2 separate regions of the Homo sapiens genome follow, and region 1 is linked to region 2. Evidence: promoter capture Hi-C in human tissues and cell types (Jung and others, 2019). All regions are on one chromosome and are shown on one strand. The core of a region is centred on a gene start or on the middle of the fragment in contact, and the rest is flanking DNA. Distances in the headings are between cores, read along the strand shown. Region 1 overlaps ADAMTS9-AS2 (ADAMTS9 antisense RNA 2). Region 2 holds the start of ADAMTS9 (ADAM metallopeptidase with thrombospondin type 1 motif 9).

Evidence for each region. The method cuts DNA at HindIII sites, captures the fragments that hold promoters and counts their contacts. A contact is called where the count stands out against the background at its distance.
Region 1: a fragment that was not itself captured here is called in contact with the fragment with the promoter of ADAMTS9 in region 2 in 2 of the 25 tissues and cell types used here (aorta and small bowel).

What each region holds. Positions count from the first base shown.
Region 1 is chr3:64,787,828-64,790,617 of GRCh38, forward strand. All of the region lies in intron 1 of ADAMTS9-AS2 (ADAMTS9 antisense RNA 2), which reads left to right. Among named protein-coding and RNA genes, the nearest start is that of ADAMTS9, 100 kb to the left of the region's middle. The HindIII fragment of the contact is 3,432 bases long and covers 1-2,790 here.
Region 2 is chr3:64,686,714-64,689,904 of GRCh38, forward strand. It overlaps ADAMTS9 (ADAM metallopeptidase with thrombospondin type 1 motif 9), which reads right to left and starts at 1,287. Exons shown (of 40, transcript NM_182920.2): 1 at 830-1,287; 2 at 1-255. The coding sequence starts at 944. All of the region lies in intron 1 of ADAMTS9-AS2 (ADAMTS9 antisense RNA 2), which reads left to right. The HindIII fragment of the contact is 6,670 bases long and covers 1-3,191 here.

The DNA of each region.
Region 1 (2,790 bases), core at 159-2,658, 100 kb after region 2:
TTCATGCACAAAAATATTAAGTGAAAGAAACAAAACTTAGAAGAACTCATGCAGTATGATAGTAAAGTGACATAAATTGTTTAGAAATTCTTATACACATAGGAAAAGTATGAGGAAGAAAAAGAGAATGGTGAACCCAAAATTCAGAATAGTAGTTTCCTTTCATAAGAGCTCCATGAGTTCGGGGCTTCTTGTCTGTTTTATTTTTAATGTTACTGTTTTCCAGTTCCTAGAACATTACTTGATATATAATAGTCACTCAAATAAACATTTTTGAAGAAATAAATAAGAGGAGAGGGGGATTGATATGGGCAGCTGCAGAAGGACTGGAAAAGTTTTATTACTTAAGCTGGATGATGGGTACACAGGGTGTATATAACAATATTCTGTATATTACATGGATGTGAGTATATAGACTTTTACATTATTAAATGTTATAATTTTTTTTTTGAAGACCAGGTCTTTGACACCCAGGCTGGAGTGCAGTGGTGCAATTCCAGCTCACTGCAGGCTTGACCTCCCTGGGCTCAGGTGATCCTCCCACCTCAGCCTCCTGAGTAGCTGGGCCTACAGGTGTACTCCACCACACCTGGCTAATGTTTTGTATCTTTTTGCAGAGACAAGGTTTCACCATGTTGCCCAGGTTGGTCTCAAACTCCTGGCTCAAGCGACCCTCCAATCTCACCCCCAAAGTGCTAGGATTACATGCATGACCCACTGTATCCAGCCATAAAATGTAATAAATTTTAAAATTAAAAAATACATTGTTAAACTTTCATATTGAAAATATTATCAAAGTGAGGAAAAAAACAGACATCCTCACTCCATCCCTCAGACCCAACTTCCTGTTGCCTCTGCCTTGGGTCTTACATTTGCCCTCAAAGGAAGAGGGTAGGATCAATGGGTACAGGGTGGGTGAGTCACAAAATGAGCCTCAGAGAGTTTGGTTATTCTCATATTTTAGGTAAAAAGTAGATTGAAAAAAGCATTTTACATTACAATTTTACATCAAAATGACCATGTTGCTGTGTCCCGCCTTGTCCTGCGTAAGAGCTAAAGAGAGAAAAAGAAACAGACAGGTAGGTCCATTTGGGGTGGACTTGAGGTCATGGGTAGCTTTTAAGATAGAGAAGCATTTAATTCTATTTCTTTCCTTTCTTTAGCTCTAGACATAATGTTTACAATATATGTATGTCTCTTTCAAATGAGTCAGTAAAGAAATGCCAGTACCAAGATGTCTCGAAAATATAATTTTAGAAAAAGGGGAAAAATGGCCCAATCTAATCACATGACAGCCTGCCAAAAACACCATTTCCCTAGCACCATGAGGATCAACTGAGATCATTCCTATTTTTTAGTTTCTTTTACACATTTTTTTTGTCTTTCAAAAATAAGCCATGTGTTTAAACAACTTGGAAGGTGAATGTTCTTATTAGTTTGACTGTTTCCACAGAGTATTTTAGTTCATTCCAGCAAGTTCTGGCTGAATGCCTATGATGTGCCTAACACCTTAAGGAAGCGTGGACAGCGGTAGGTTCTAGTTCAAAAGCAGCTCAAATACAGAAACCTCCACCGCAACCTACTTCATGAGTTAAGGAGCTGGGTAATTTCACTCACTGCCGTATTATGGAAAAGTCTACTTTGGTATTGTTGAATGTCATATGTGAGGTATGGAGTTTAATGCAAAGGACTAGGAATTGCATATTTTTTGATATGGAAAGAGAAGGAAAAAAAAACATGCAAACTAAGCCTTCAGTGCTGATAAATGCAAAGACTTACTGCTCACTCTGAGAAGCATATCCTTATGGCTGAAGTTCACCAGGGGAGGTGCTGGGAGTCAATGCCTAAGCAATACTCTAATCCCACTCTGGTGCAACCTGTTCCTGAACTTGGATAAGTCTAGGTTTGGTTTTCACATATGTACCATAAAACAAGCATCCTTAAGGTTTCACCTAGCTCTCATATAGCCTTTGCTTCTCTTCTACTACTTTTGTATCTTCTATACATACCCACAGTTCACAGACACACACACACACACACACATACACACCCCTCTTAGATGAGTTTCTTCAAATAGTTTTAGCAAACATTTCTAGAGGATCCAGCTGGGGTCTCAAACATAGAAACTCTGAGAGAATCATTTGCAACATATGTTAATTGAATTACTGAATGAATAACTGAACTCATTCATTCAATATAAATTTATACTATTTATGAGAACATGGTTAATGTCTCCCAAACTTCAATCATTTACACATCACTATTATGAATTGTGCTATATAATCTGTATAATTTGGAGCATTTTAGTTTTTCCTTAAAATGTCTCATTTTTACTCAAATGTAGTTTTAAAGCAAATGCTATATTACTCTTTTATAAAAAGAAAACCAATACTAGTCGGGAAATATTTCTTTAGGGAGACACAAAGAACAGTTGACTATAAGAGAAAAGATTGATAAATGTATATAGTAAGAACTTTTATTCATTACGAAAACTTAAAGATACTGAAAGGTAAATTGCAGACTGCAATAAGATAATCTGCAATATCTAGCTACACACAATCTACAAATAATTAGAATCAAAATATGTTAAAGTGACTAAAAATCAGTAAGAGTAGCACAAACAAGCCAAAAGAAAAATGGGCACAAAACAGCAGTAGGCATTTCACAGAAGAGATAAACACATGTATGCAACAGATGCATGAAGAAATTTTTAGTATTATTAGTGACCAGGAAAATACAAATCAAGATTAGATGAGATACCATTTTATAGATACTTGAGGGGCCCAAATG
Region 2 (3,191 bases), core at 37-2,536:
ACAGTGGAGCGATAAATCCGGCATTGGCGGTGAGATTAAATAGAAACTGCTGGCCGAAGGCAGAGAGGCGGTAATGCGCCTGGGAGGAGGTAGAGGAGGAAGAGGAGGAGGCGAAGGCAGGCCAGGGGTCAGTGGCAGAGTTAATGCTCCGTCGCGTTCTTTTGAAGTGGACGTTCGTGGGAAAGGGTTCTCCGAGAGCGTTCACTCGGATGGGAGACACGATTTCGTATTCGCTCAGGGTCTCTAATAATTTCACTGCGGAGAGAAGCAGAGGTATATGAACCAATAATTCATTTTTCCTTAAGCTTTAATTTAAAACGAAGGTGGGGACTTTGTTCTGACCTTATTTTCCAGCCCATTCGAGTCAATCCCTTCACCCTTAATCAGTGGACAAATATTTGCTGAGCACCTACTATGTGCCAGTAACAGGACCTGTGCTAGGTGCTGAGGATACACTATTCCGAGCCAGACAATTAACAAGTCAAAATATATATGATTTCAGATATTGATAAATAACCTGAATAAAATAAAACATGACGCTATCTGGTGCCCCCAATTACTAAGTTACTTTAGTTTGCGGCGTGGGAGTGGGGATGGGGATATATCTGGCAACAGCAAGGTAGGGGGGGGTTGCCTAAATTCGTTTCCATAGTGTCCCTCCCTAGCAATTGGTTGGGGATGACCCAAAGAAGGGAGAGGCTGCAAAGCGGGAGATAATTCTTTCTAGGAAAAGGAGAGAAGCCTCCGCTGCGGGGTGCCCCTGCCCAGGAGCGAGGACCGGGAGGCGGCGTCGGGGCCGGCGGGGTCCCGGGGGCCGGAGCCTGGTTACCTTGCCTCGGGTGCAGCCTGTCCTTGCGCACGGCCGCCGCGGCGTCTGGGCTCCCCATCTCGGCCAGGTCCCGCACCAGGAGCGTTAGCAGTGTGGCCCAGGATACAAACTGCATGGTGCTTCCCACCCCTCCCTCCGCTGCCCCCACCCCCCTCCCTCCTGCCCTCCTTGGCTGCGGCGGCGACGCGAGGCAGCGGCCGTGGAGAGCGCGCGGAGCCCGGCGCCCGCCGCCAACTTTTGACTTTAGGAGTCGCTGAGGTCTCGCTGCGAGGGTCCCGTCTGCGCTCGGCTGAGCAACGCCGCCGCCTGCCGAGAGCTGAGCCGCTCGGGCCGCAGGAGGAGCCGGAGGAGCAGGAGGAGGAGGAGGACTGGGGCTCGGCTGCTTGGCCGCATAATGCCCAGCGAGCGGGCAGGAGAAGGCGAGGAACTTGCGCTCCGAGGCGCGCCGGGCGCCCTGTGCTGGCCGGGATAGCTGAGCGGCTTCTTGAATGGGGGGCTGGGGGGGCGGAGGCGGGGGGGCCGCGGGTCCACAGCCTCTCAAATGCCCCCGGTGCACGCCTCTAAGAGGAGGAGAGGGGAGGAGAAAGCGAGACGAACGGGGACCGCCTCCTTCCAGACCATGTCCCCTCCTCGGCCGGCCCGTGCGGGACTCGCAGCCGGAGGCCCTGCCGGCTGCAAGAGGCGGAGGCCAGAGGCGTCACCAGCGCCGGGGCAGCTGTTCCTGGTCCCCGCCACCTCGCTGAAGTGGGGTTTTCTGAGATTCCCTGCCCCGGGGAGGGAAAGCAGGGAAAGTTCTCTCCCTTTCCTGGCGCGCGTGCAGCCACTTCCCCTCTCGTCTTTTTCCTCTCCTCTCCTCTCTCTCCTCCCTTCCGAGTCTCTTTTTCCTCCTCCCCCTTGTCTCTCTGCTGCTGTGCCTCTCGGACTCTGTCCCTTCTCCCCATTTTCCCCTGTGATGTCTGTCTTCTCCCCGCCCCACCGTGTCCCTGTCTGTTTCTCACATTTCTCCTTTTCCTTTCCTTTCTCTTCCGTCCCCATCTCTTGCCACCAGTCCCCATCTTTTGGTTTCTTACAAGTGAAAGTGGCCCAGCGCCGGAGCGCCTTCCCTTCCTACACTTTTTCATTCGGGAAGAGATTTGGCACCTGAGCTCCGCTCTCGATTTAATCACCCCAAGTCAAGAGTTTTAGAAATGGGGTTCTTAATCCTGCAGGTCGGAGTGTGTTTCTAATACGTGGTCTCTTGAAAATTTCGCAAAATATTTAAGCTGTGCTTTCCACCAACCTCTGTCACCATTCATGGAGGGTCCATAGCATTCTGTAGGTCCCCTGCCCCAAAAAAGGTTAAGAACAAATTTTGGCAGCAAGAAGGGGCGGGGACTCTGGCGCCCCTCACTACCAGGGGGTTTAGAGATGGGAGGGGAAGGGGGGATGGAGTGTAAAGTTGTAGATCCCTGTGGGAGGCACCAGTCCCTGGAGGGATTTCTCAATCACTTCCGCTTGCTTTCAGCCTGAGAGATGCTTGGAAAGACTGGGAAAGACTGAAAGCAGGCGCTTCAAGCTACACCTTCGTGTGTGTGTGTGTGTGTGTGTGTGTGTGTGTGTGTGTGAATTGTTCAATCTTGGGTGGTTCAGTGGCGCCTTTTCTTTAACCAGCCCTCAGGAAGATAGAATTTCAAGATAATTTCAAGAGGAAAGACATGACAATATCGTTAAAAATATATAAATATATGACTAATAAATATATATTTGCCCAAGTATCCTAGAACGGGGGTTGAGGTTCTGTTGCGTGGTAGGTTAGCACTCAGGACTAGAAATACCAAAGATTGCCAACACCAGGAACCAAATCGCAATATGCTAGCAATGTCAACTATTCTTGAGATACTAATACATATATTTCTTCTGGTGAAGGGTAAAAATGACTTGGCAAGACGAATTTGCTAAATAATTGTTAACCCAAATTGATAATGTTACCATCGTCTTATTACTGGAATTTCATAATGGATATGTAAAATGTAAGGATGGAAAAATAACATCTGTATTGTGCACAATTAGAGATTTTTAGAGAATGGCATTTAAACCTTGAACCTCCAAATTAATTCACTAAAATACGTTTCTTCTAATACACAATCTTTCTTTTTATTATAACAACATTCCCCACAATCACAGTGTCTGGGAGTTGCTGAAAATTTAGTAAGGAACAGAAAAATATCAAGAAATCAATCTATTGGCTGATTCCTGTGGAAAATATTCCAGTACTTCCATTGTAAAATTACTCAAAAATATAGCACTTTCCAGTATTTCCCATTAAATCTTTTTTTCTCTTTCAGTTCAAATCCTTCCTGACAAAGAGAAGTTAACTAATGGT